Linked DNA regions of Homo sapiens: regions 1, 2, 3, 4, 5 and 6 are each linked to region 7. Evidence: promoter capture Hi-C in human tissues and cell types (Jung and others, 2019). All regions are on one chromosome and are shown on one strand. The core of a region is centred on a gene start or on the middle of the fragment in contact, and the rest is flanking DNA. Distances in the headings are between cores, read along the strand shown.

The links. Contacts are between HindIII fragments. The study calls those that stand out against the background at their distance.
Region 1: a fragment that was not itself captured here is called in contact with the fragment with the promoter of FLRT2 in region 7 in 2 of the 25 tissues and cell types used here (dorsolateral prefrontal cortex and mesenchymal stem cells).
Region 2: a contact is called between a fragment that was not itself captured here and the fragment with the promoter of FLRT2 in region 7, in 1 of the 25 tissues and cell types used here (heart left ventricle).
Region 3: a fragment that was not itself captured here is called in contact with the fragment with the promoter of FLRT2 in region 7 in 2 of the 25 tissues and cell types used here (dorsolateral prefrontal cortex and mesenchymal stem cells).
Region 4: a contact is called between a fragment that was not itself captured here and the fragment with the promoter of FLRT2 in region 7, in 2 of the 25 tissues and cell types used here (dorsolateral prefrontal cortex and lymphoblastoid cells).
Region 5: a contact is called between a fragment that was not itself captured here and the fragment with the promoter of FLRT2 in region 7, in 1 of the 25 tissues and cell types used here (dorsolateral prefrontal cortex).
Region 6: a fragment that was not itself captured here is called in contact with the fragment with the promoter of FLRT2 in region 7 in 1 of the 25 tissues and cell types used here (dorsolateral prefrontal cortex).

The regions. Positions count from the first base shown.
Region 1 is chr14:84,461,677-84,464,376 of GRCh38, reverse strand. No RefSeq gene overlaps it. Among named protein-coding and RNA genes, the nearest start is that of LINC02305, 550 kb to the right of the region's middle. The HindIII fragment of the contact is 6,074 bases long and covers 1-2,700 here.
Region 2 is chr14:83,820,815-83,823,514 of GRCh38, reverse strand. No RefSeq gene overlaps it. Among named protein-coding and RNA genes, the nearest start is that of LINC02305, 93 kb to the left of the region's middle. The HindIII fragment of the contact is 6,578 bases long and covers 1-2,700 here.
Region 3 is chr14:86,898,089-86,900,788 of GRCh38, reverse strand. No RefSeq gene overlaps it. Among named protein-coding and RNA genes, the nearest start is that of LINC01148, 6.3 kb to the left of the region's middle. The HindIII fragment of the contact is 5,785 bases long and covers 1-2,700 here.
Region 4 is chr14:84,169,057-84,171,756 of GRCh38, reverse strand. No RefSeq gene overlaps it. Among named protein-coding and RNA genes, the nearest start is that of LINC02305, 260 kb to the right of the region's middle. The HindIII fragment of the contact is 4,006 bases long and covers 1-2,700 here.
Region 5 is chr14:84,384,584-84,387,283 of GRCh38, reverse strand. No RefSeq gene overlaps it. Among named protein-coding and RNA genes, the nearest start is that of LINC02305, 470 kb to the right of the region's middle. The HindIII fragment of the contact is 3,461 bases long and covers 1-2,700 here.
Region 6 is chr14:87,009,701-87,012,400 of GRCh38, reverse strand. No RefSeq gene overlaps it. Among named protein-coding and RNA genes, the nearest start is that of LINC01148, 110 kb to the right of the region's middle. RefSeq lists an enhancer at 2,470-2,700. The HindIII fragment of the contact is 4,134 bases long and covers 1-2,700 here.
Region 7 is chr14:85,528,644-85,531,393 of GRCh38, reverse strand. FLRT2 (fibronectin leucine rich transmembrane protein 2) reads right to left here and starts at 1,250. Exons shown (of 2, transcript NM_013231.6): 1 at 860-1,250. It overlaps FLRT2-AS1 (FLRT2 antisense RNA 1), which reads left to right. Exons shown (of 2, transcript NR_184170.1): 1 at 1-2,750. The HindIII fragment of the contact is 3,489 bases long and covers 1-2,750 here.

The DNA of each region.
Region 1 (2,700 bases), core at 19-2,518, 1.1 Mb after region 7:
CAGTACCAGGGAAGAGTTCCTTTGGTGTGTGATTTTTCTCCTCCTCCTATTGTTCTTCCTCCTTCTTTTGGTTTACTTTTATTTCTAGGGTAAAGGAATGACAAATGAACTCAGATTGAATGTGACTGTAACCACATGGTAAAAGATCACAGTTCACCCTGTTTATATATTGAAATGGAGGACACTTTACCACAGCAGAGTTGAAGTAACTTTCAACCATGTTCTTAACACATACAAAACTATCATTAGAACAAACTAAATTTGGGATGTTGTTTATGCAAGGAAGTTTTTCTAAATTTACTGAGTGTATCTGTTGAGTTGGAGTTGAAGGAAACCAGGTTGTCCAGCAGAAATGCAGCTATGGGGCAATCGATTAGAAATCGATTACTTAGAAATGTTCAAGCAATGAAAACATGAACTTTCGACAAAGCTCAAGTGTCTTGATTCAGAGTTTGTTTTCTAGATTACAGCATATTTCAGTTAACTTGAAGTTTGAATGTGTGCATAAGGGTATTTTCACAATTAATCTCAAACTTGTTAAGTTCACAAAAATCCTCTTAATGGATAGAAATGGCTTAGAGGTGAATATGGAGACTATACCAGGAAAAACAGGGAATTAATTTGCCTTCTTTTATGAAGAATTTTCTTTACTTCTAATATAGCTATCAGAAATATACAAATATCTTGCTTTGTGTTTGTCTTTCATAAGATATGTTTCTAGATGCTCATTGGTCTATTTTTTCTTCTGTGAGCAGAAGTTTAAACCTTGTAGGAATGAAAGCTTCATTTTATATTATTTTTATGGCATAGATTACATTAATAGATAGGGTGTATGTGAGTGTGTGTGTTAGTATTCGATGTAAAATAAAGACTTCCATATCTAAATGCTACTGAAAGTTGTAGTATAGTAGTTCCTGTCTAAATACTGGATCTCCTTGTGTACAATTCTCACATCTGTATTCAAATTTTGTATATTTGGATTCGTTTCCCAAAACCCTAAGAATTTTCATTCTAACAGATACAAGCTATTCTTATTTACAGTATTTAGAAAAGAAGAAAAATAAGTAGTAGGGAGTGGTATGAACAGAATATGGAAGCAAATTTTTGAGGCATGATCAGGGTAGCCTTTTCTATAGCAACACTGGGAGAGATTCAAAGTTAAGTTCCATGTGGCGTGGTGGCTCATGGCTGTAATTCCAGCACTTTGGGAGGCCAATGCGGGTGGATCACTTGAGGTCAGAAGTTCGAGACCAGTTTGGCGAACATGGTGAAACCCCGTCTCTACTTAAAATACAAAAATTAGCTGGGTGTGGTGGAGGGCCCCTGTAATCCCAGCTACACAGGAGGCTGAGGCAAGAGAATTGTTTGAACCCAGGAGGCAGAGGCTGTAGTGAGCTGAGATGGCACCACTGCATTCTACCCTGGGTGACAAAGGGAGACTCCAACTCAAAAAAAAAAAAAAAAAAAAAAGTTAAGTTTGATCTACAACCAAACCACTATGCTTGTAAGGGAGGAAGATGGGACAATTTTAATAAGCTCTTGGAGAGTTCAGTAGATTCTAAAATACTGGAATCGATTTCTGAGTCAGCAAACCAAAGATGTGAAACATTTAGTGGATGGCAGATGGGAAGAGTTGTCTATGTCAGGGTTTCTGCTAGTCCCTGTTTCAGGTGCTCCATATTCATTACCCTTTTTAACCTTTCCATCTCTTTTATAAAATGGGTATTATTTCTGTTTTATATGGTTAAAAAGTTAACAAAAATTAAATTAAAACTTTTAAGAATTTATTTGTATGTTTGGATATAATGGCAGGCAAGCAAAAAAAAAAATACCAATGACATATAAGGCCTCAGTCTTGAGAATAGGAGAATATTTTAAAAAATCATATCTATTTGACAGCTTCCTTTTACTTTAGCATTAGTCCATTCCATGAGTCAGTGTTCACCAGGTTTCACTAACTAACAAATAGTGACTGGTTGTAATTCTCCCTTTGTTCTCATAGTTAAGAGCAGTGTTTGGGTCTTAGGCAATAAGTTAAGTTAGTTGTTTTAAAATCTGATGACTGGAAAATAGTTTCCAAATAATTAACCTTTAACATGTTAACTTTTACCTTTTAAAGTTTTTCTTATAGTTTTATTTACTATATTTTCATAAACTATAGTGAAAGATTTAAAGAGGCAGAAAAGTAAGGGTACTCCTTGTGTACATCATCATTTTCTCACAAAACTAGAGATGTGAAGCATATCTCAGTATCATAAATAGAAGAATTAACACATACAGTTATTAGGTGCTGCATTATTCTAAGCACTCTACATATATTAACTTATTTAATACTCACAACACCCCTTTGAGGTAGGTATTTTTAGTACTTTAGTTTGACAAATGAGTAAATTAAGGCACAATGAGGTCAAATATTTTTCCTAAGATTATAAAGCTGGTAAGTGGCAGAGGTGTGTTTTAAACCCAGGCCATCTGATACCAGAATCTGCATTCATACCTATCATGCTATGATTTGCAGCTTCTCTAAATGCATAGTAATCCTTGCCTCTGTCAGATCCTCAATGGCCATGGCTTTATTTTAAAACATATTAAAATACTATGTGCCTTACTTTAATATTTAGATGAAAAGAAGAATGAAAATTCTCGAGAGATGAGAAAAAGTAAAGTACTATAGTTTGTAATCATATAATCTGGGAGGGA
Region 2 (2,700 bases), core at 42-2,541, 1.7 Mb after region 7:
GATGAACCTAGTGACCCATATGGGATTATAATTAGTTAAAATGTGAAAATAGGTCTCATAGTACTTTCAGCCAATACAAGTTTTCTAAAAATAAAATGAATAGTAACCTCAGATATTGGAATAATTAATCTCACTTTATCGATTACTCCTAAATATATTGTATGAATGAGAATATAAAGATACTTGGATAGATAACTAGGCTCTTTAAAAGTGATTGGTTCCTACCCCGGTGATGGTGATCACACTGTAAAAAGGGAGAAATGATGTCTGTATGGGCTGAGATCCTTGCAAGAAACTCATCATGCAAGTGCCAGTTTTTATGATCATTGTATTCGATCAGCAGAATTTCTCAATGTGAGCAGAAGATGGGATCTTTTCATCTTCTTCGTTGTCTTCTTATGCTGTCAAACCTTTCTGGATTGCCCACTCTATTATCACCTTCTAATAACAGAGGAAGTGAATATCCAACTTCATAATGGAAGCATGCTGCCTACATTATTTTAGATGAAATGTATTCTTTCCTAGAGCAATCTGGGCTGCAGCTGTTTCTCTGCTGAAAACTACTTCAGCAAGTAAACAGTCAGGTTTTACTGATAGACTATCCCGTTTATAATATTCCATTTAATTGCTAGGCAGATATAAGCCGGTTCTCTTCTATACGTTTTCAAACTACAATGGTACAAAGAGAATTATAATAATACCCGACGTAATAGTTATCCAAAGAGAGATACTGCCATGTAAAAAATATTTAGTAACTGCATTAGGATTATGTTAGTGTGGTAAGGCATTATATTGCTAGAAGCAATTATAGCTTGCAATACACAAGAGCAATGACTTTAAGTGAAGAGAACAAGCTGAAGACCTGAAGTTTATGTGCGCGTCAATGTGTGGAGGAGGTATTTGTTTCTCAGGGAGGGGTGAAAGGAGGAGTTTAACTTACTGCATCAAACAAAAGGGGAGCATTTTTCCAGATGCAGCGCTTTGAGTTTTCAATGACAAAAATCATTATAAAGAAGCAAGGGAATAATTTACCATTATGGTTGGGGAAAAGAAATTTAAAAATAAAATAAATGTTTAAAAGAAGCAAGACAAAATAAAAATTGGTTTTAGATGGGGAAGGTAGAATAAATTCTCTTTTTAAAAAGCTCTAACAATAAATAAAATTGTTCATTATAGTTTAAAAAACCACAAATATCAATAATAAAGTTCTCACAGAAACCTCGTATTTCATATTCTAACAGTGTTTTAAGATTTGTATTTGAAAATGGAATTTCAGGGATTACTTTCTGCTTTTCTGTGGCTTGATGAATGAAGAAAGTAGAAACTGAGGATGATGCTACTGTAAGAACTTAAAGCATAACTCTCTCTTCTCCTTCCCAATAACAAAAGATATCCCAAAGCAAAAGAAGATAGCCTGCTGTGAAAGCTATCCAGGTATGAAACATATGTTAAAAATGTCTGATAAACATTTTAAAAATGTTTAATAGAAATGTTTAATTATTATTACTTTTTTAATCCAATTCCCAGAAAGCCAGTAACTCATATTTCTAGTGGAATTTCCCGTTTGCTTTCCCGGAAATCTGACCTTCCTCAATTTCCCATTGTTCACCAACTGTGGGAACTCTCTTGGGTTTGGATGACTTGAATCCTTGCACACATTCAGCCATGTGTGTGGGATCTCCTCCACTTACCCAAGTGAAACCTTCTATTTATGCTCTCATTCTCAACCTGGGTGCATGTGTGACAGAGAGCTTCTTACTGGTCTTTTAATTTTACTCAAAGATTTAGATAACTTTATACCCCAAATTAAACACATATATATTATGGGTAACAGTGAACCAAACACTTGCAAGGAAAATTTCCTTTTAAAAGTTAGGTATCCAGAGTCATCAGGCACAGGTTCTCTACCTTAAACTTACAGGAGGGCACTAGTGACAACGTTAAGGCTGCAAAGTCCTTCTTGACTTCCTTGGGCTAAATTATTAATCAATTATTGTGAACTGACAAAGAGCTTCATATCCACATTATTAAATTTATTTTGTATATTATAAAAATTTTCAATTTTCTTTCTTCTATTTGTGAACTTTTAACTGCCTTTTTTTGTAGAAGTGGTTTTGCCCTTGACCTTGAGAATAAAATAGTAGACACTAAATTGCATGTATTGGCATTCAGTGAAAATAATGGAAAGATCTGGGTCCTTATGTTGGCAACACCACTAACTGGGTGTTGTTTTGAGCCATAATTCTACATTCTCATACAATGTTCTAAATAAGCGTGGTCCATGAGGAGAGGGAATATCACAAGGTAGAGGTGGAAGATAACAGAAATATTTTAGGCATAAAATGGAAGAATCATACTGGAGGAGGGAAGGCAACATGTAAACTTTCTTCTATAATTGCATCAAGAACAGTTGAAAACATCCTAGCTCCACAGTTTTCTTTGCACATGACTTTTGGTAAAGCCTTAGTTTGGGAAAAGTGCATAGAATTATTCAGGGTCCCTGCCTGTCATCATGATTCCTTTGAGATGCTTCTTTCACTTCTGTGTTTCTTTACCTTTTTTTGTTGTTATTTTTGTATTTTCATGCTATCATAATATTGGAAAACATTTATGTATAATTTGATCTTTCTTCCAAAACGCAATATTTTCATTTATATGTATATATATATATATATATATATATATATATATATATATATA
Region 3 (2,700 bases), core at 43-2,542, 1.4 Mb before region 7:
TGTCCATCAAAGCAATACTCACTCTGACCTGTATGTTGCCTGACATTTTTAGTCCTCTATTCCTTATTTCTCAGCACGATTTTAAACTGTGGATTACCGGCTTCTTCTGAAATATTACCATTACTTGGCTGCCATGACATGCTACTGGCGTTTGTTATAATGCATGTATAGCCCATGCTTCTCTGACTCCTTTGTCCACCCAGCCTTCTAGCCTGGGCTGCTTCATTATGGCATTCATCAGAGCTTGATTCTTGGTCCTTGGTCATTTGCTTTTTCTGCACCCTCCCTAGACAATCTTACTCATGTCCATGCAGTTACCACATATATACAGATGACTTCAAAATCTGAAAAACAGTGAGATGACTCCTCCAAACGCCAGCCATGTATCTTAACAGTTACTTTACATATTCCTCTTAATGTCTCAAAGACATTTTAAAAACTTACCAAAATTGAGCATATGCTCTCTACTCCTCAACCCACTTCAATGTTTTTTTTCTTCTTGTTTTTCTTTTCTCAACTAGCACTACCAGACGCCATGCTCTGGATTACCCCTATAACCAACACTAAATACATTGTGTATATACCCTCTCCTTGTAATTGTCAGCATCTTGGATCAAACTAGTATTATTTGTTTGTTGCATTAATTCAAAATCATTCTTACCTATGCACCCCTATGTACTAGGGTTCATCCACAACCTGCTGAGTGATATTTTCCAAATACAAATAGGCATATGTGACAACCCAATTCCTGCTCCTTGCTTAAAACATTCCAATGGCTTCTTAATGCTCTTTGGAAATTTATGAAACTCCCCATGCTTAAAGCTACGATGCTTCATGGTAAGCTGCACCACCTCACTGGTCTCCCTTGTTGCACATGCCCCTCTCTGCTCTAACCCACTGGCCTTGTTTATTCTCTTGCGCTCACTCTGCTCCCACCTGGAGAAGTCCTTTGCCCCACTAGTTCTTCTGATTAGGATGCTCTTCCATCTCTTTTTCACCAGGTTAATTCCTTTTCATTCTTTAGTGACAGTTCCCCTGGATAATTGTCACAGTGCTCTCTGACAAGGACAATTATCTCATTATATACTTTCAGAGCTCTCTATCTCTTTTTCATGCTAAATGTCATTTATACATCGATAATTTGATTAGTATCTTTGCCAATAGAATGCAAAATCTTCAAGGGAAAGGGCAATATTCATTTAAGATTACATCTAAATCCTCAAAGATCAATCAAATACCTGGCACTTAGTAATTGCTCAATTAACAATAAACAGTTAAATGAATGACTTAATGAAGGAAGGAAACATTTTTTTCCTAGTAATTTCACCCTGACAAATACATTACATTACACTGCTCGTTATTCGAGAAAACCTTGGAAATGAGTATACCTGTATCCCAAATATGCTTCTAGAGAAATTATTGATACCAGTACAGAGTTGAATAAGACATTACTGTGAAAGGCTAGATGTTATTAGGCTACATCTTGTCCATCAAGAGGGAATCTAGTGAATTAGGCGGCACGTACCTGGGTGGAAGTGATGGACTAGAGATCCTAAGACACTGTTGACATGCCAGAGACCAGGGTTCCCATAAAGACCAGGGACTGAAAAAAGCAAAACGTCTGGGAGCCAAAAGACCAAAGTAAAGGGTTCAGTCCGTGAGTCTATTTTCAGAGGCAGGATAGATGTGTTGTATCCAGACATCCAGGCTGACATTAAGCAGCTCATCAGAGGCTCAAACAGGGACAGTACTACTTCCCCAATGCTTGTTTGTAAATATGAAGAGAGATTTTTGGTTGCCACAATAACAGAAGGCTGTTACTGATATTTGATGGGTTCAAACTACAGTGCCAAATGCCCTGCAAAGGCACAGGGCAGTCTTGCACAATAAAGGGTTTCTTTACCCTGAATGCCAAGAGCTCCCCCTTGAAGAAATGCTGTTAGCCAACAAGCTCCTTGAGGACAGAGTTTATATTTTGTTCCTCTGGGTATTCTAGCGGCAAGTATAGTGCTTAATTGGCAGTGAATGCATATTGAAAATGGACTTCAGCTACTTGTCTGTGATCTAGATAAGAACGCATAAATGTATTAATTTATATTGATTCAGTGGTAGAGACAATAGGAACTCTTGTGTCTGAGCAGAGATTGCAAAGAACAGTCTTTTCTCAGTTGTAAAAAGAAAAGGTAATTAGAAATATCAGAAATGATAAGTTATAGAGATGAAAGTGGTAAAAGCAACAATAAAAACTGATATTTATATAGGATTTTAATTTCAATGCTTTACTAACTATATGGGCTGGAAATGGATTCAGTGGGTAGTTCCAGGCCTCCATGCCATCACTACTTAAGGCAGCATAGCCTCAGATGGATCCTGAGAAAACAGAAGGCATTTGTGTGTGTGTGTGTAGAGATGGGGCCTCACTATATTGCCCAGGCTGGTCTCAAACTCATAGACTTAAGCAATCCTCCTGCCTCTGTTTGCCAAATTGCTGGGATTACAGGCATGAGCCACTGTACCTGGCCCTGGAAGACATTTTTATGCATGCATGCATTTGTGGAAACGAGGAGAGGGTTAGAAAATATGGAATGAAAATAGAGAAAAAATAAGGGAAAATCACCTGCCCTTGGTTTTCAAAAGACCCACAAAACCAACCACTGCCCTCTGTGATGGAGACATTCTTTAGTCAGACTCAGTGTAATA
Region 4 (2,700 bases), core at 4-2,503, 1.4 Mb after region 7:
TTAGAGTCTAAGACAGTTAGATGTTGAGCTTAAATGCTTTATTAATTGGTGGCTGTTTTGGGGCCAACTATGGTGGTAACATTTTTTACTCTCCGTAGGAAGGTTGTTTCCTAGGGTCTAAAGAGTTGTCCCTCTTTAGACTAACAGTTAAACTTACAGGAAGATTTAGTAATTCTGTGGGTAAGTTTAAATTTGAATTAAGATTCCATCTTGGACAACCAGCTATCACCAGGCTCTCGGTAGCCTTGTCACCGCTACTCATGAATCTTCTCACTATTTTGCCACACAGGTGAGTGTGCTCTTTTAGCTATTCTTGGGTAGCCTGTCTGGTTTCGGGGGACTTGGCTATAGCTCTCTGTGTAAAGTTATTTCTCTTTAATACATTACGCAGAAGGTATAAGGGTTTGTCTTTGTTTTTGAATGGTTGATACAGTTCTTTTATCTCCTTATTTGAAGAATGAGAAGGTTATCATAAGAATTGATGGGAAAAGTCAACTAAAATAATACATCTTGTGAAAGGAAACAACTGGAGAAGATATTCCACACTTTCTAGGGATTGAGACAATCCAAAGACTAATTTAGATCGCCATCTAAACTATTTAAGACCTGAGTGTCAGCAGAGAGTTAAGTAGCTCATTTCAGTGGCATTGGAAGATCCAAGATATAAACAGCAGCAGAAAAAAAAGTGAAATTGGGAAAATGAAAAAAATACACTAGCTTTCTATAGTATCTATTGATTATTAATCAACTTCAGTGATTAATGTTTTATCACTAAAGTAATATTCCAACTAAGGATACTTAGACTATTCATATAGGAGTATCATAAGTTAATTGATTTGTTTATGGTTGAATATATAGTTTATAATTAGAATCCACCTCTGTTTTCATCTACATTACCTTGTGGTTACGGGAAAAAAGAAAGAAGCATATTGAATAAAATGAGAGGAGAAGAGAAAAATAAAAAGATGTTTACCAGGAGGGCTGATTCTAGACACATTCTACTATGGCCTGAGATCTCTGCTGAATTATTTAAGTGTAACCCAAACATGACTGGGAGCTATGTGATACAAGCAACCTATTATCAGAAATCAGAGGTGTTGATTACTACTTCTAATATGGTTTGGCTGTGTCCCTACCCAAATCTCACCTTGAATTGTAATAATCCCCACATGTCAAGGATGGGGCAAGGTGGAGATAATTGAATTATGGAGGCAGTTTCCTTTACATTGTTCTTGTGGTAGTGAATAAGTCTCATGAGATCTGATGGTTTTATAAATGGGAGTTCCCCTCATAAGCTCTCTTGCCTGCTGCCATGTAAGATGTGCCTTTTTCTTCCTTTTCCTTCCACCATGATTGTAAGGCATCCCCCAGCCATGTGGAACCATGAATCCATTAAACCTCTTTTCTTTATGAATTACCCAGTCTTTGGTATATCTTTGTTAGCAGCATGAGAACAGATTAATACAATTTCTTACATTGGTACTCAATAACTGCCATTTAATGATCATTTTAACTTCTGCATCCATTTTCACTTCTTAAAATTTTTACTTCAAGGAAAATAAACAGAATTAACTGAGATAATGAATATGGCAATGCCCAATATATCAACATTTGTCAGCAAATGATTTTGGAATGTTATCTAACCTGATCCTCACTCCGATTTATGGAGAAGATTTGATTGTGTCATTCTTAATATAAATTCCTAGAGGTCATAAAAGAACACTTCTAATTGTTTTTGCATACCTCTCATTTTCTTCAGAATTCATTAATAAGAACTTACACCCCTTAAATGAAGAATTTTTGTACTCAAGAAGAAACATAGATATAATATGTATTATGTTCTAGGCCTTTTACGAGCTTATGATCAAACTGAGAAGAGAACAATTGAGATTTCAGGGTATGGTTCTAAGTGTTATAAATCTTCAGAGAAAGGAGATTAATGTCCACAAGAATACTCAGAGTAAACTCCATGGGACTGGCAGGATTTGGTTGAAATTTATTAGATAAGGAAAGAGGAGAAAGAAAGGCATTTGAAGGTCTCTGAAATAATTACAGCAATAGTATTAAGGCAGAAATTGGGTATGTCAGGGAGGATATTAACATTCATTGTGGGCCTGATATGCACAAAACCAACTGTCTACATGAAGTACACAAATTAATTTCCAAGTTAAATCTTCAAAACTGTAAGTGACATACATATTTTATTACTCAAAATAACTTTTGTGATAGATATTGCCTTCAGTATATTATATATAATCCCAAAGTGGGCTGACACCTCTCTGATCCTTTGGAGAGCAACAGGATTGCCTCACTGCTTGGATTCCACAATGACCTTAATAAGCACTAAGCTTCTTCCCAACCTTCATGAGAACTCTCCAAGTCCCTCTGCTCTTCTATTCCTGAGCTCTCACATGCTCTCCCTGTCCAATACTAACACCCAACACACCGGTGAACTGTTCTTTCTAACAGATTTCACTAAATATCCAGTCACACCAAGGTTTTGCCATTTTAGTTGCTTTATTGAAGCTGACACTTCAGATGAGTTGGTGAACGGTTCGTACTGAGCCTGACAAACTTCCCCACTTACCTGTTCCTCTTCTTCCTACCTCACGCACTCTAGTTCAGAAACCACAGAAAACTCCTACCTTTGATTCATGCAAAGTAGCCTCACTCCCTTCTCTAGGACCTTAACACAGTCTG
Region 5 (2,700 bases), core at 5-2,504, 1.1 Mb after region 7:
AGATTGGGCATCTGATAGGCTGCTTTCTCTCATGTCAAAAGGCAAAGGAGAACTGATGTATGCAGATAGCACATAGTGAGGGAAGAAACGAGGAGGGAGGGTGACAGGCTCTTTTCAACAATCAGCTTTCATGGAAACTAGTAGAGCAAGAACTCACTCACCCCGAGAGAGGGCATTAATCTATTAATTAAATATTCACCCCCATGACCCAAACACCTCCCATCAGTCCCCACTTCCAACATTGGGCACCAAATTGCAATCAAATTTCAACATGGGATTTTGTGGGGTCAAATATCCAGTCTTAGCAAAGTTTTTGTCTATTTCAATGTTTTCTTGGTGTTGTTGTTATTGTTTTTGCTATAGATTTGTAGAAGTTCTGGATACTGTTGTCATTGTCAGTTTAGGCTGTTTTAACAAAAATTCCATAAACAAAAAGATTTATTATAATTCTGGAGGCTGGGAAGTTCAAAATCAAGGTCCTGGCCTATTTGGTTTCTGGTGAAGGCCGGCTCCCTTCCTGTTTTGCAAACAGACACCTTTTTTGTTGCATCTTCCCATGGCAGAAAAAAAAAATCCCTCTCTAATCTCTTCTTATAAAATCACCAATCCCATTTACGATCATTCCAACCTCATGTCCTGTGGACTTTTCATATGTGACTCTTGCCATGATGAGGTCATTTTCTTTTATTCCTAGTTTGTTGAGTGTTTTTATTAGGAAAGCATGTGGAATTTTGTAAAATGTTTTTTTTTAATGTATCAAGATAATTGTGTGAATCAATTATGTTATTATGGTATATTGCAGTGATTAATTTTCATATGTTGACTTGTTCATGGTGTGTAATCCTTTATGTATGCAGCTGAATTGGGTTTGCTACTGTCTTGAAGATTTTTGCATCTCTGTTTTTCAGAATTGTTGGCCTGTAAGGTTTTTTCTCTTCATTTATTTGTCTGGCTTTGGTATAAGGCTAGCCTCAGAAAAAAATTTGTTTGTTTCTTGCTACAATTTTTGCTAAGAGATTGAGAAGGATTGGCACTAACTCTTCTTAAATGCTTAGCAGAATTGACCAGTGAAGACATTTGCTCCTGAGCTTTTCTTGGTTGGCATATTTTTATTACTAATTTAATATTCTTACTTGTAATTGATCTGTTCAAATTTCCTGTTACTTTGTGACTCAGTCTTGGTAGGTTGCATGTTTCTCGAAACTTATCAATTTCTTCTAAGTTATCCAATTTGTTGGTATGTAATTGTTCATGGTAGATTTTTATGATCATTTTGATTACTTTGGCATCAGTTGTAATAACTCCTCTTTGATTTATGATTTTATTAATGAGCCTTCTTTTTCTAGACTATGAAAAGATTTGTCAATTTGTTGATCTTTTCAAAAAATTAACTAATTTTAAAAACACCATCATTAATTTTTTTCTATCCTTTATTGTGTTTATTTCTGCTCTAATATTTCTTCCTTCCTTCTGCTAAATTTTGGCTTGTTTTGCTCATTTTCTGTGTTCTTATGGTATGAAGTTAGGTTTTTATTTGAAAGCTTTCTTTCTTACTGATGTAAGCAATTATTGATATAAATTTGCCTCTCAGTACTGCTTTTGCTAAGTCCCATAAGTTTTAGTATATTCTATTTTTGCTTACATTTGCCACTAGATACTTTCTAATTTCACTTTTTTTGTTTTTTTTAATCAATTGGTTGTTACAAGTTTGTTATTTTCCACATATTGGTGAACTTTTCAATTTTTCTTCTGCTATTAATTTCTAGTTTTATTTTATTGTGGTCAGAAATAATACTTGATATTATTTCAGTCTCCTTAAATTGATTAAGACTTGCTCTGTGGCCTGACATGTGACATGTGATCCATTCAGGAGATGTTCCACGTGCACTTGAGAAGAATGTATCTTCTGCTGCTGTTGGGGTGAAATATTCTGTATGTCTGTTAGATCCATTTTATCTACAGGACTGTTCATGTCTTCTGTTTCCTTTTTGATCTCCTGTCTGCATGTTCTATCAAATATTGAAAGTAGAATATTAAAATCTTCTACTGTTATTGTGTTGCTATTTATTCCTCCTTCTGTTCTGTCAATGTTTGCTTCACATATGTAGATTCTCTGATGTTGAGAGCATATTTATTTATAATTGCTATAGTATTCCGTGAATTGATCTTTTATCAGTATAGAATATCCTTCTTTGTCTCTTGTGACAATTTCTGACTTTTAGTCAATTTTGTCTGATATAAATATACCACCCCTATTCTCTTTGGTTTATTATTTGTATTGAATAACTGTTTTTTTCCTTTCACTTTCACTCTATGTGTGTTTGTAAACATAAAGTGCATCTCTTTTTGCCAAACTTAGATTTTGTTATATAGCATAAAGTTGGATTTTGTTATTTTACTCATTCATCCACTCTATGTCATTTGATTCAGGAGTGTAGGTTTTTGTTTTTACATTTAGAGTACAATCTTTTACCTTTACTTTTTTTTTACATTTAAATTCCCATTGTTAGATTATTATAGTATTATGTATTTGCAAATACATTTTCCATTACCAGTAAGCTTTCTACTTCTATAAACTCTCATGTTGCTGTTTAGTGCCTTTTTATGTCAACTTGAAGGACTCCCTTTAGTACTTCTCGTAAAACATATCTAGTATCGAGGGAATCCCTCAGCTTTTGTTTAACTGGAAAAGCCTTTATC
Region 6 (2,700 bases), core at 147-2,646, 1.5 Mb before region 7:
TTTTCTTTTCTTTTTTTTTTTTTTTTCCTTCACATAATGACCCTAGCAAACTCAGTTCAAACTCTCCTAGGCTCGAATCCACCCAAAGTATGAACCTGACATGGTTTCAGAAAAAAAAAAAAATTAAAAAGAGAATTTTCTCTAATAATTTCAATACAAAGCCTCAGATTCGACTCTTGTGTGTTAATTTTAGACCAAATTTAATCATATGTCTACACCGGATCTTGGCAAACAGAATGTCAAGTTGGCTTTGATTTGGATCACATGTATATTTCTGGAGCTAAGGTTAGCCCCAAAACCTTATGGAAAGAAAAGGAAAAAGGTAACTTCCTAAAGGAAATTCAACCAACACTAGGCAGTAGGAACAACAGATGTCTATCAAAATAAAGAACAAAACAACTAGTTCCACAGTCATTCATCACTTTACCTATTTTGTACAACAGTTTTAATAGAAATGCTAGAATGATTCTATCTTGTTCACTGACATTTATTTCAATAAACACTGAATTCTAGAAAAAATTTGAGATGGAATCATAGATTTTTTTAGGGTAAAATTTCTACTAAATTTCCATTTGTGTCTCAGAGAAAATGGCTCCAACTGGATTTTTCTTAAATAAACAGCCTATTAAATATTTCCACTGTAAAAATCTATTCCAGAGGACAACTAACTCCTGCACCTGTTTCTTTAAATAAATGTTTTCTTGTATCTTTGGTTTTTACTACTCCTATAATGCTTCTGAGTATTATACATTATACAGTATCTGAGAGACCATTTCTATTTCACCAGACTTAATTCAAGGCAGCCAAATTAAATCATCTCAGTGATTTAGGAATTTCCCAAGAAGACCTTCAGACCTCAAATTAAAAGGAGTCAACTTAAGTGCTTAATTGTTTTACAGATTTTTTCTTCATTGATTTTAATTAAGGTCTTCCTTGTCTTCTGAGCTTGGAGGACTTTTATTATCCTTTGAAATAACTTTATTTGAAGTCAGGTTGGCCAACAAGTCACACAGACTTAATAATTTTACAGGAGCAAGTTATCTTGATATATCGGGAAACAAAAATCCACCTTCCCTTGTCAGTGAGACTTAAAACTGCATATTGATTTCTTTTAAACATCAATTGAGTACCTAAGAGGAGGTAGCAATTCTAGGGAATGTGACATATCAGAGCCCAAAACTGTGGGTACAACCTTGGAGAAGGAAATTGGCTGTAAGCAACTGACCTCTAAGTTTCCCTGTAACAATTCATTTTGTAACTCTTCAAATAAGATAGTTGTTTGGCTCATTTTCCTAGGGCTGGAAGAGCTTCTGCAAGCTTTATCATTAGCTTTCCCAAGTGCAATGGTAACAGCCAGTCTAGGTGCCCTTCCCCTTTCAAGGGGCTGATAGAAGCGAAAAATGTGTTCAACACAGTCTTCTGTTTAAAAGGGGGCAGATTTGAGGTTAGATAGCCTGGGTTTCATGTCCCTGGTCTGCCATTCACCAGTGTGTAGCATGAGATAATTACATATCCTCTCCAAGTCTGAGTGCTGAAATCTGAGAAATGGGGAGAACAATATTATCTACTTCAAATTTGTTTAGTGTCCTCTTCAATTCATTTTTTGAGAATGACGTGGTGTATCTAATATTTATAGGTATGTAAACTTTGTGTGACATATATAATAAAATTCTTTTGTACAAAATAAAAGGAAGAAGGTGTAGTATGTTAGTTATGGTTCTCCAGAGAAACTTAATGAGGAATTGTCTCACATGATTATGGAGACTGAGGAGTGCCACAGTCTGCCATCTGCAAGCTGCATAACTGGAATAAGCCAGTGGCCACGGGTGTAATTCAGTCAGAGTCCAGAGACTTGAGAATCAGGGAGTCAATGGTATGAATTTCAGTCCAAAGGTAGAAGAGGAAATAAGCTGACCCAGTGCACGCAGTAAAACGGAAAAAAAAAAGAAAAAGTGAGTTTCTCCTTCATCCGCCTCTTGTATTCTTCAAGTTCTCAACAGATTGGATGATACCCACCACATTGAAGAAGGCAATGTGCATTACTAAATCCACTAATTCAAATGCTAAGGTTATCCCAAAGCACCCACACAGACACACCACAAAACGGTGTTCAATCGGGGCACCCTGTGGTCCATTCAAGTTGACATAAAATTAACAATCACAAGGTAAATATCTTGCATGGTGAATGATCAGGGCAGGAATGGATGAAGGCCAGATAATGCAGCAGGTCTCATAGTTGCTAAATAGCAAGATTTTATTTGGTGGAGATGTAGCAGAGATTAGTCATAGACTCCCTTTATTTTAGATTCTTTCACTTGAAAATCCCCTTTGTACAGGCCCTATTCCCTGAGGGCCTTTAATATGCTTATTGCTTTAAAGATTGTGTTTTTTTTAAATAACATAAATCACATGGAGTAATAAAACAATGTTTACATATAAAAATTATGAATAAATGTTAAGTATTAGTATCATCATATCACTATTATTATTATTTTCTCTATTATCTTCTCTCCATGCCTCTCATATTAAAGATATGAACATAAGCTTGCATAAGTCACCCAGAGGGAGGCTTGTAGACTCTGGGAATAAATCTAGGTGTTCTCCACTCCTCAATCCTTGTCTAGCATTTTATATTTTCTACAGAAACTCATTCAATCACATCAGATGCAGCTAAAAGTCTGATGACCCCGACACATCAGA
Region 7 (2,750 bases), core at 1-2,500:
CGGAGGGATCTTTCCAGGAGGCCCCAAGCCCCCAAGCCTGTGGAGAGACTTGGTAACAGCTGGCAAGGCCTGCTCCAGCCACCCTCGCTGGCTCCTTGCCCCTGCATTCAGCGCCTGAGGGCGTTATTCGCCCTCTCCCTGCGTCCCACGCAAGCGGCTCAAGGAACTCACTCGATCCGGATTCCGCCTCGTATGCTCTCCAAGCCTTCGCCACCTCCGCAGGCGCTCTAGAAAGGCGTGATGGCCCCAGCTCAGTGCCCGCCAGCCCGAAGAGGACAAGCAGGGCTGGAAGGGACTTGGTTTTGGAAAAAGCCCCACCCGCCCCCACCAACTGGAAGGAAAAGGAATTAGTATCCACCGCATCTGTTTAACTGCTAATAGATCCCAGATTACGGGCAGGTAGTAGGTTGGTGTCTTTAGATACAACAGCCTGATAATAACGCTGGTGACATTAACAACAGCTTGTGGAGGGGAGAGGGTTGTTACTGGTGAAAGTTAAGAGATTCAATCTAGGGAAGTAGGAGACTGAACTCTGACAAGGTTAGGGGCACTGAGAACCCCAATTTAGCATCGATGCATCTACCAGGCAAGAAAATTTGCGTTTTGACCCAGAACTCAGTCATGATGCTCCGTAGAGGAGGTGGATTCGACCAGCAGACAGATGTCCCCAAAGTCGAGAGAGAGCTAAGCTGCCTATTTTCTCTCCAGGTGAAAGACAAAGCCTAGAGCACCCCACTTAAGATGACCACCCCCAGCTCTTTCAAAAAAAAAAAATCCCCCGAAGAGACAGCGTGGTGCCAGCGTAGCAGCAGCTCGGCCGGTTACTGGAAACTTCACCTGGCAACGCAGCCCCTTTTACCTGACGGCTGCGTCTTCTCCTTGCAATGGGCTCATCCGAATCCGACAGGGTCAGGGAGGTGGAAAGGGAAGACGCTGGCGCGGCAGCAGCGGGGATCCCGGGGCATGGTATTGTTTTAGGGGTCGCCGCCGAGGTCCCTCCTGCCCATCGTTGAGAACTGCCACCCTGATCCCAGGGCTCGGTGGACACGGCGGCGGGAGCGGAGATGCCGCCTCGCCGCTGCTGGGCACCAGGGACGGAGGACCAGAGGCGCACCTCGGAAAGGAGTAGCTCAGCGCCTTGGCGCGGAGATTTGCGGGCACTGATGATATCTCGAGCGCTCGTTCCTCCGCGGTGACAATGGATAATGCCAAACGCGCAAGTGACGGCGACAGGTTTCGAACGTACAACTAACTACAAGGTACCCAGCCTGAGACAGTATGCTGCTTTTCCCCTCCTCCTCCTCTCCCTCCTACCAGGGAGGGAACTAACTTAACCCTGTGTGCGCCTGACACTCCCTAGAGAAGCTGGGATCGACTAGGAAACCGCAGGCAGCGGCTCCCGGGGGCGAGAGCTTTGTTCACGTGCGTTTCCAGTGGGTGTGTTGCTGTCTAGGGGCACTCGCGTGGCAAGACGCCCGTGGCTGGCTTCCAGCGCCCAAGATTCAAGGAAGGGAAGGAGCCCTAGCGTTTCATCCGGACCAGACCCAGCCCTCGGAGTCTATTTTTTGCCTCCAGTTACCGGATTTATTGAAGTTGCCAGCGAAGTTGGTTTTATTCCTTTACTTCTCTGCTCTCCGCCCCCGTCCACATCCCCCAACCCTGTATTATTTCCTGTCCTAGCTGCGCTTTAAAGATTCGGAACTTTTCACTCGTTCTAGCTACAGATTTTAACTGTGTTCCGTGTGCGAGACGAATTGTGGAGGGCACCCACCCACCCATGCCAAGTGTAAATGAAACCGCAAGAAAAGCTGCCTCCCACTCACCCATCCAGTGTCCGAGTAAGCCTAATGACACACATTCACATAACTAAGAAGACACGGGAAGATAGGGGTGCGGAGGACGGAGTTTGATGTGTGAATGGGAAATGGAGAGAGGGGACAGCGCGCGCGAGAGAAACAGCGCGAGCCTGAGCCTTAGAATGGAATAAACGGGAAACACACACAAGAATGACGATGCAAAAAATGTATCTAAGTCCCAACATTGACAGCAGAGGGTCAGCTTTAAGCGCCTACATTTTGATCCGCGAAATTTCCCAGCTTTTTTGGAGGCGGTTACATAGAGAACACAGGAGCCTCTGCCTTGGCCGCCCAGATGCTTTGCATTTTGTAAACAGCTTTGACTAAGTGCTCTGGACTTCCAAGAAGTTAACTGGAGTGGAAGGCGAGTCATATTGTGGATGCGGAATGGAAGCTTAGACAAGAAAAAACTGTCAGCAGAGCGCCTCTGCTCTCACCGTCACACCCAAATGAGCCAGGACGTCGCTCAGAGCGCAAACTGAGATCCACACAGGGACATCTTCAACCGAATCTTTCTTCTGTCTCCATTCCGGACTAAGGAAAGAAAGAAAGAAATACGGAGCCTTTATAGAGTATTCAGAGGCTACACACATGGATCTTGCTGAAACGGAGTTATTTAAAAACAGAGAAAGTGTGTTTTCCCATGAGATAGATGTTATAGTTTCTCTCTGAAACATACCCAAGTCTATGGGTGTCAATAATAGCCATTTCAAATGCCTCTCTGAGCCTTGCCAGCCCCAGAAGAGGCTGTGGGAATGCTGCTTCCAGCTTCCCCTGTGCAGAACTCCGTTGTAAATCCTTCTGAGTTTCCAAGGTGGCAGCAGAGCATAGGGATAGCTCCTCAAGCTCCAGCATCAACAAGGAAGATCACATTTTAGGACAAATACTCATCTA